2 separate regions of the Homo sapiens genome follow, and region 1 is linked to region 2. Evidence: promoter capture Hi-C in human tissues and cell types (Jung and others, 2019). All regions are on one chromosome and are shown on one strand. The core of a region is centred on a gene start or on the middle of the fragment in contact, and the rest is flanking DNA. Distances in the headings are between cores, read along the strand shown. Region 1 has its middle 210 kb from the start of MIR891A. Region 2 holds the start of SLITRK2 (SLIT and NTRK like family member 2).

Region 1 (4,542 bases), core at 1,163-3,662, 420 kb before region 2:
ATTATAAATTCAAGTCTAAAGAGTAAAATGCAATAAATACATTTCCGTGGCATAGTCACTGGGGAGACAGAGAGCCCTATAGGAAGGTACAGACTCCAATATTATTCTGAATAGTGTGGAGAAATAGCTGTCAGTCCTTTTCACATCTTGTTATCTTTTGGTCAGTGAGGCTCTTTGGTGTTGGAGCTGCTGCCTTAGTCTCCAGGGAGAAGGGCTCAAAGCTTATGGTGCAATGGGAGGTTTGCAGAGAATCTAGCTAGTCATCAGCAACCACTAGCTGCACGATGACTCAGTGCTCTTCTTTAACTAGATAAAACATTATTTTTTAATCCTTTGCCAAAACACATTTTTTAAATGCAGAGACCAGAAAAAAAATAAGTCAGCTTTTAATGTTTTTGCACGTTGCATATTATATTTCTGTCTAAAAGGAGGCTGCATGTTTGGACAGTGAAAAGGATGTGTGGAGTAAACAGCATCAGGTAGGGAAAACCTCAGGCAGTGATAAGATTTGAAAAATTTTTGGCAACCCAAAACAGTTCTCCAGGGCAAAGAGAAAAATTTAGAGGAGTTCCACCTTGGCCAAAATGGCCAGGTCCTTGCACCTCCAGTGTATCCAGTCATCGGCTAATGATTACATAGGAAGCGTGTGGCCCCACCTGGAAAGCTGAGGCATTTCCTCAAGGAGCTAATGGTTGTAGGCTGTCAGTTAGTTGCACTCCCTGCAGCTGAATTGCAGATTTTTTCCGTGGGGACATTCAGGTACACACCTTTATTGCTGCAACAGAGGTGATGGAGTCCAGGTGAGAAAGGTAAGACATAGAAAAGACTTCTGGGGGAGAGGGATAATGAGTATGTCAGGTAAATAAGTAGGATTTCTGGGTAGCGCTAAGGACTCACTTGAATTTAAATGGAAATCTGTCAGCATGATCCTTTGCTTTTCTCAATTTGTGTTCACATACTGCAATAGATAAGTAGGGCTGGATTTACCAGGGTTGGGATTTTGCTATCTGAGAACAACAAAGAGCAATGTCTGTAGAGTCCATTCAGTTCCCAAATTCTACAATTTTTTTGTGTATGAAGGTGACCTGACTTTCACCCCAGTAGCTCCCATATTAATTCCAGAGACTGGCAAACAGGCCATGGGCCTAATCTAGCCTAAATGTTTTTGTCAATAAAGCTTTATTGCTCAGAAATCCCATTACTGGGTATATAACCAAAGGAAAATAAGTCATTTTACAAAATGCCACATGCATGCATGTGTTCATCACAGCACTGTTAACCATAGTAAAGATATGGAATCCACCTTGGTGTCCATCAGTGGAGGATGGATTAAGAAAACGTGGTACATATACATCATGGAACACTACACAGCAATAAAAAGGAATGAAATCATGTCATTTGCAGCAACAAGAAGGCAGCTGGAGGCCATTATCCTAAGTGAATTAATGCAGAAACAGAAGACCAAACACTGCATGTTCTCACTTATAAGTGGGAACTAGATATTGATTATACATGGACACAACGATGGGAACAATAAACACCGGGGACTATTAAAGGGGATAGGGAGGGAGGAGGGCAAGGGTTGAAAAACTATGCTGACTACCTGGGTGATGGGATAAGTCATACCCCAAACGCCAGCATCACACAATATACCCATGTAACAGACCTGCACATATAACCTCTGAATCTAAAAGAAAAGTTGAAATTATAAATTAATTAAATAAATAAATACAGTTTTATTGGAACATGGCCATACCCACTCATTTACATATTGTCTATTGCTTTCTTTTCATGCTACAAAGGCAGAGTTGAGGGTTTGCAACAAAGACTAGAGAGATCAAAAGGCCTAAAATATGGACTATATGGTTCTTTACAAAGTTTGTCTCTGGATTAGGCTAATTTATCTGCCTTCCTCTGTGGATCCCTCACAAAACTGTAGCGTCAAAGATCATAAGTACCTGGTGTAGACGAGGGGTATTCTAGGAAAATGGGCATGCGAGCAGGTTTTACCCCTGCTAGACCCGTCAGCCCTTAGCAAATCATTAACACTAAGGTGTACACAAATATATTTTTGTTGAATTAATCAATGTTAAATATCATCTCATCTTTGCATTAATTCTACAAATATCCAGGCCACTGTTAGTTATAAGGGCTGGAGATACAGCATGTTATCATTTGTACCTGATGTTTTTTCACAAATATGTATTTTTATCTTATTTTCCAAGTGAAAATACCACTGCTTGTCCAACATATATTACCATCTTATCTGTAAGTAATGACCAATGAATAATTTTGTATTAAAATGATACACAAGACAATTTTTTGGATAAGCAGAACCAGAATTCTAAAATTCTGCTGAAATTTTTATAGTATGTCTATTTGACACAGAGCTAGACAAAGTCTATAAACAACTCCTATTTCTAGTTCCAGTCATTGCTGGCATTAGCCATGTTTCCTAGCATCCATTCATCAAGCATTTAATCAGTTAGTCTCTCAGGTGTGAAGTTCGGGAAATGATGCGGCATTCGCAGTACACAGCCCATATCAGGTTGCAAAAAAGAAAGCTGAGGCTGAAGGATCCTGCTCTGTGTACCATTCAGATGAAAGAAGTTGGTTTAGAACATATAGGAAGGTCTGGAGATTGGAGAGGGAAAAAAACTATGACTTGGGGAAATGGAGAAGTCCAGAGGTTGTTGTGGGAAGAGGATAAAAGATAATAAAACATGAAGGACAATGGTGGAATTTGAGAGGAACAGATTGCTCAGAGGACCAGGTAATGGTTACCTAGAGCTGAGGGATAAATTTCCCAAGTACAGGATCAAATATTAGCATGGCAGGTGATCCAAGTGCTCTGAACTCTTGGGCACAGGAGGAGTCTCTGTTTCCTCTACCAGAAGAAAAACAAGAAGATAACATGTTAGTGACGCTGGACAGAGCTAGAATCTTCCTATGGCATATTTGCATTTCATTTGTAATCTGCAGAAATGATAGTTATTGTAGAGTGTCTATTCATTAAAGCTCTTTCTACAACTTTGTGTGCATTGTTGCTATGCAGGACAAAAAGGGTGCTCAGCTGCTGTTATGGAATGAATTGTGCTCACCCTCCCCTCCAAAAAAAACCTCATATGTGATGCCCCAAATCCCAATGTGGCTGTATTTGGAAATAGAATCTTTATGGAGATAGTTTATGTTAAATGAGATCAGAAGACTGGGGTGTTAATACAATAGAACTCATGTCTTTATAAGAAGAAGAAGGGACACTAGAGATTTCTTTCACTCCTCTCTCTTTCTCTTTCTCTTTCTCTCTCTCTCTGTCTCTCTCTCTCTCTCTCGCCTTCTCTGCACCTGCACCAAAGAAGAGGCCATGTGAGAACATCTATAAACCAGGAAGAGAGGCCTTATTAGGAACTGAATCAACCAATGACTCCTTCTGGGAATTCTAGTCTCCAGAAATGAGAGAAAATAAATGTCTGTTGTCTAGGCCACCCCTCTAATATGTGGTGTTTTGTTACGGCAGCCCAAGCAGACTCACATAGATATCCTGTATCTTCTAGATAGGGTTTAATGCCAACTAAAGCCAGACACATACAGAAAAGTAAGGCTACATTCCTGTGGTCAGGGATAACTATGTATTTATGGTTGTCTTTTCATGGATGTCCCTGCATCCAATCCATCCTGTACACTGAAGCTGAAAAGGTGTTTTTCTAAACTGTGTCTCACTCACACATCGTCAATGGCTACCACCTATAGAATAATAAATAGAAGACAAGTCCCATATGCCTTCAGCTGCCATATAAGGTTCTCAATAATTCTGTTCCAACTTGAATTTTTGGGGCTGCCACCCAGCCCTCTTTGAAGCCACACAGCTTCAACTTCAGCTATAGCTCTTGCACTTTCTCAATGTGTCATGCTCTTGTATGCTTGAGTGACTGAGTCATTACCCTGCCTAGAGTGTCTTCTCACACATCAAGCCTCTGAAACTCAAGTACCTGCCACACCCCTCTTCTCCTCCCAGGGCCAACTCAAATGTCACACGCTCTCCGTCAATCTCTCATATCTCAGGTGGAACTAATTCTTCCCTCATTTCTGTCCCTACATTTATTTCACTTTTTAAATACTTGCCACTTTAAATTGCAGTTACATTTTAGAGTGTCCACCCTCCTTCCCAAATAGTGAGCTCTTCAAAGTAGAGAACATGTCTTACTCATCTCAGAGAGAACAATAACAGCCCAATAAAAGAAGCTGAATAACTGTTGAACAAACTTACATTCAAGAAGATCACTGTGAAACAGCAATGAGACCCCTCAGGAATAGCTAAACGAATAACTTGCCAGCACACTGACGCGAGATTCCATTCTCTAGCCAAACTACATAGTTATCACCAAGAGCATTAAACTGGTAGGAAATCACATTTTTATGAAAAGTAAAGTCCAATATTCTTGTAGATGAGGAGGAGGAATAAGACTAAAAAAGAAGTGAGTACCAATACTTGTGAATTTTAAAAAGGCACACTGGCCCAATGGTTTCCTTATTTGTAAAATC
Region 2 (4,672 bases), core at 1,786-4,285:
GCCTGGACTCTGAAAGTCAGCTCAATGTTAGCTTATAGACTGAGAAAAACAAAAACAAACCCCTTTTCTCCCTGAGGTTTATACTTAGCCAGATAATGAGGTTTAAACGTGCACTTCTTGCCTGGAGGAAGGAGAAAAGAAGTGGGTGTCAGAAAAGCACTGCCAGGCTGAGCCTCAGCTGGGAGTGGGAGCCAAAGGAAGGGTGGTTGAGCCCTCCAGGCTGCAGGGGCAGGGGAGCTAGGAGAAAAGAGGAAGCTGGTGCAGGAAGACTGGCTCCTGAGAAAGAGAGGAGATGGAAAAGGAATCCTGGCCTGAGACCGAGCTTACCTGGGTTCTGATCTGGCTCTGTTGCTAGATGTGCCACTAGCTTCTGGATCTTCCTGTGTCCATCTGCAAAAGGCAGGTAGGTAGACTGTATGGGCCCTCCCAGCTCTGATATCCAATGCGGGTTTAAATAGCCTTTCCAGAGCATTGCTAATGGCCAGGTGTTGGATTTTTGCCTTCATTATCTGTTTTCTCCTTAATTATCTTACAGCTCCTTGGACCCAAGAGTCTTCCATTGTGGAATCAATTCGCAAGGGGTAAATAATGTCTGCTGTTGCCTGGAAAGGCCTTGGTTGCCTCTGGTAGGAAGGGGGAGATGGGTCAGGAAAAGGAGGGAATCAACCAGGGAAAAGGAGTTGACCAAATGATGTGCCTGTCCCACAAAACACTTCAGCTTGCTTTCCCGGAGTCCCACTGCCTGGCCAAATGTGGAATAGATAAACACACAGATACAACAAACCACTTGAGAACAGAATGACCCTTGCTTCTCCCCTTCTCCTTCCTTGTTAAGCCTAGGTTCTAGGATTGTTCCCTTTATACAAGCTCCTTTCTCTCCGGGAAGGGCGGGGGTAGTTTATAAACTTAGGCACTAGGGCCACCTGTAGCTGGTGATCTGTGCATTATTTTCTTGAGCTTTCTCCCTTTCTCCTTCTTCTTCTTCTAAGAGCCTTGGACCAGGCATCAGAAGCCCCCTTACCCTCTAATTCTTGCTTGGCGTTTAGCAAAATACTTTCCTTCTGGAGACTCAAATTTTCCTTCTCCATAGAGAAGGGCAAACTTGAGATGAGCTCTGAGGCAGAGGGACAGCCCTGTGGATGGCCTCCCACCCTGTATTGCAATTGCATCATTAGATGGAAGCAGTCTGATGCAGTGGGAGCACAATTAAGCTCCCTTTCCTAGCAAAGGAGGCATTTGTTTCTATGTATTTCCAAAGGTTAAAAGCACATAGTTCCTAGAGCAATAAGATTTATTCATTCAGTCATTCATTCAACAAACATGTATTATGTCAATATTTAACTGAAGTAAAGACGTGAGAGCCGAACAAGACCTTAGAAGTCAGGTTCATTTTACAGATGAGGTCATTTCTTAACCAGGGAAAGTGCTGACTTACTCAAGAAACTACAAATAGAAACAAAACCCAGGGATTATGAGTCCCAGTCCATCATCTTTCCAAAAAGCACACTACTGCTTAATATGAATTAAAAATCTACTTAAACGTAAATAGCAGTGGTAGTGTTTTACTTAAAGGTATCCTTTTTATTAAAAAAAAATGTATTTGAAAGTGAAACATCAAATACTAGTTTCGGTTCTCAGATACAGTAATTTCCTTCAAGACATTGATGACGCTTTCAATATTCCTTGAGGACAGATTATTTTTGCGAAGAATTTCAGAGACAGGAGAGAGATTCAGAGAGAAAGGTGGAGGTGGTTGGGGGCTCATGAGATTCTTGAGACCTACAGAATCAAGGAAATTCATGGGTAATCTAACTGTGGGAAGCGACACTCGGACCCTAAGGAGGTCTTCGTTCCTGCCTGTCCTTGAGAGTCCACAGCTGCTTTCCAAAACGTAGTTACTAGGAACAAATCAGCCTGAAACGCGATAACCACTTTAAGTAAGTTTCATTTGGCCCCGTGTCTTCTGAAGAACTGCCGCAGCACTCCGCTAGGGAGAGCGGGCTTTTAAGGCTGTGGAAAGGTTCAGGGTGAACTGGGACCCCAAGGGAGGGAAAGGCGGTCATTAAAATAAGGAAAACGCTCCCTCTCCTTGCTGAGGCAAGGGAGGCTTAAAGACGAACTCCGTCGCCTGTCTCACTCGCATCTAACCGAGTAGAGCCTGGCTCAGGTCTCCAAGCCTTCCACAGGACACGGTGGGTGCCGGCGGGCTTACAGCCCACCTCCGTCCCGGCCGCCCATCAGGCCACGAGGGGGCTAAGAGGAGTCCGGGGAACCAGAGAGGGGGCACTGCTTGCCCGCAGCCTCTTCTTCTAAACACCCGCCGCCCGCAAGCCGGGTCGAATCCCATTTCCGAAGGGCGCTTCCGGGAGACCAGGTGTCTCCGAGCGTCCCCGATCGCCGGTAACTGGGCACCGGCCGCCAGCGCAGCCCTACCTTCCCTGCCCCTACCTGCTAGACGCCTGGTGCGGTGCCCGGCATGCGGACCTACAGCCGCGACGGCCACTCGGGCTGCCCTCGCCATGGGACTTGGGCACTGCAGGCCGACCGGAGGCTTCTAGCTCGCGCCGGGTGCGTGGGCCCTCCCTGGCCGCCTGTGCCACCCCGCTGCGCGAGGCGCGGAGCCCGACCACGCCCGCGCGGACGGTCCCGGGGTGAGGAATCTCCAGTGGGGATTGAGGGTAGAGGGCGGCCGCCAGCGAGCTGCCCTCCGCGGATGGCGCCCAGCCTCCCCACGCTGGTGCCCCTCGCAAGGAGAGGTGGCCGGGAAAGGCAACGGACTGAGGAAAGCCGGCTCACTGGCCGCGTCGCCACCGCGTCCCTGAGTGCTCAGAACTTACCGAGCGAGCGCGCCGCCCAGATCTTTTCCCGGAGGCGCCCGCAGCATCTGCGACTCGGGGAGGCAAAGGAGCCGGCACCGCCTCGGACTGGCGCAGCCCAGGAGCGAGAGCACCGCGGGGAGCGCGGGCGGCGCCCCCAGGGCAGGCAGATCCCCACCGAGCAGCTAGCCAACGGGCAACGCTTCTTGCAGGAAGGAGGGAGGGAGGCGAGAGGGAGGAGGGAAGTAAAGCGGGAGGGAGGAGAGGGGAAGAAGGGAGGGAGGAGGGAGGAGGGAGGGAGGAGGGAGGAGGGAGTGAGGAGGGAGGAGGGAGGGAGGAGGGAGGGAGGGATCGCGTCCCCCCTCTCCCTCACTTATCAATCACCCCACAGATCAAATATCCGGGCTGTGCACCCAGGACGGGGATGTAAGAGCCCACAAAGGAGCCGCTGCTCCATTTCTCTGACAAGCGCTGCGGAGCACTGCTCACGCCTCTCGGTCCCTCTTGCCTGGAACTCTGCCCAGCCCTTGCGGCTTCCACCCTGGGCTGCAGCTCGGGCTCGGTCAAGTGAAATAAGAATGGCACACGGTCGGTACCATGTCCAAGGGGAGACTAAGACTACTGGGTGGAAGTTAACGACAAGTGAAAGAGCAGTCAGCCATCCGAGCTGGACACCCTCCGGGACAGCTGCCTCCCCTAACTAGTAAGCGCCCAGTCTTTGGGAGTTCGCAGGCAGATATTTAAGAACCTCCTACGAGGATCGTAAACAAGGACTTTCAACATAAGATAGAGCTGAACTTGAGTTGTGCAAGTGTGTTAACAAAGCAAGCCCTTAGCAGCGTTCCAGTGCCCATTTTGATTCCCTTTATTCTTCACGACGACGTTGCCTGGATCTTCTAGAGCGTGATTTTTGCCATCCTCCCTTCCCTTTTCTCCTTTCTTCTTCCTCTTATTAGTAGTCCAGGTGGTTGTGATTCTATTAAAGGAAGGCGCTCTGTGAAAAGAGTCAGTGTAGTTCAAGAGGGAGGTGCGGTTTTTGCCAAGAGCATTGCGTTTCCCCTCAAGACTTGCTTTCTCTAGGGCCTCTCCTCTACTCTTCCAGAGTATTCGAGATAAAGTTGCAGTTTGATAAATTTATGCCAGGAGTAGGGAGTTCATTTGATGACACTAAGTCATTTTCCCCTCCATCCTGTAGGAGAACGTCATTAATTCAAGTCGTTGCCACCCCCTATCCTTTTCATGCCCGCTAGAGTCTGCAAAACCCCAAATCCTTCTTACTGTCGAAAAGCGTGATGGTGGAGAGCAGACGGGGAGGCGAGGAGAGAGGTGCAAAATTAGACGCAAAATTACCTCTCCAGCTAGTGGATCTGCATTGGAATTTGTCTGTTTCCATATTTCCCATGCCTTTCAACTCGTTCTCACAGCACTGACAACCACCTTTTTCTTGTCCTTCCCGTGGGAATCTTTTGTGCTTCTCCTGTCCTCTCTTCTTGGCTTTCTTTCATAATGGTTTTCTAAGGAGATTATGCTGGGCTTTTTAAAAAGAAAACTACTGGCAATCTTATATTATGAAGATGTACAGAGTTTGCTTTAATAATAGTCGGAAGAATTATAATCGTATCTTCGGAGTTGTAAGGGTCATTACTGTTCCTTTTATTTCATTCTTGAGAAAGCCTTTTTGAAATCTTCCTACCATTCAGATAAGCAACTTCGGAATAACATAGTTCTCACATAAGCACGTGGGCAGTGTATGTACGGTTATATATCCAGAAGCATTGCTCTTCTTTTTACAATATCTGTATTAGTGTAAACATCCAATGTGCTGTTTGCTACAGACTAAAAGCAGTGCACTGAGC

Evidence for each region. Contacts are between HindIII fragments. The study calls those that stand out against the background at their distance.
Region 1: a fragment that was not itself captured here is called in contact with the fragment with the promoter of SLITRK2 in region 2 in 1 of the 25 tissues and cell types used here (small bowel).

What each region holds. Positions count from the first base shown.
Region 1 is chrX:146,237,778-146,242,319 of GRCh38, reverse strand. No RefSeq gene overlaps it. Among named protein-coding and RNA genes, the nearest start is that of MIR891A, 210 kb to the right of the region's middle. The HindIII fragment of the contact is 3,426 bases long and covers 700-4,125 here.
Region 2 is chrX:145,816,192-145,820,863 of GRCh38, reverse strand. SLITRK2 (SLIT and NTRK like family member 2) reads right to left here and starts at 3,035. Exons shown (of 5, transcript NM_032539.5): 1 at 2,838-3,035; 2 at 328-390. The HindIII fragment of the contact is 9,514 bases long and covers 1-4,672 here.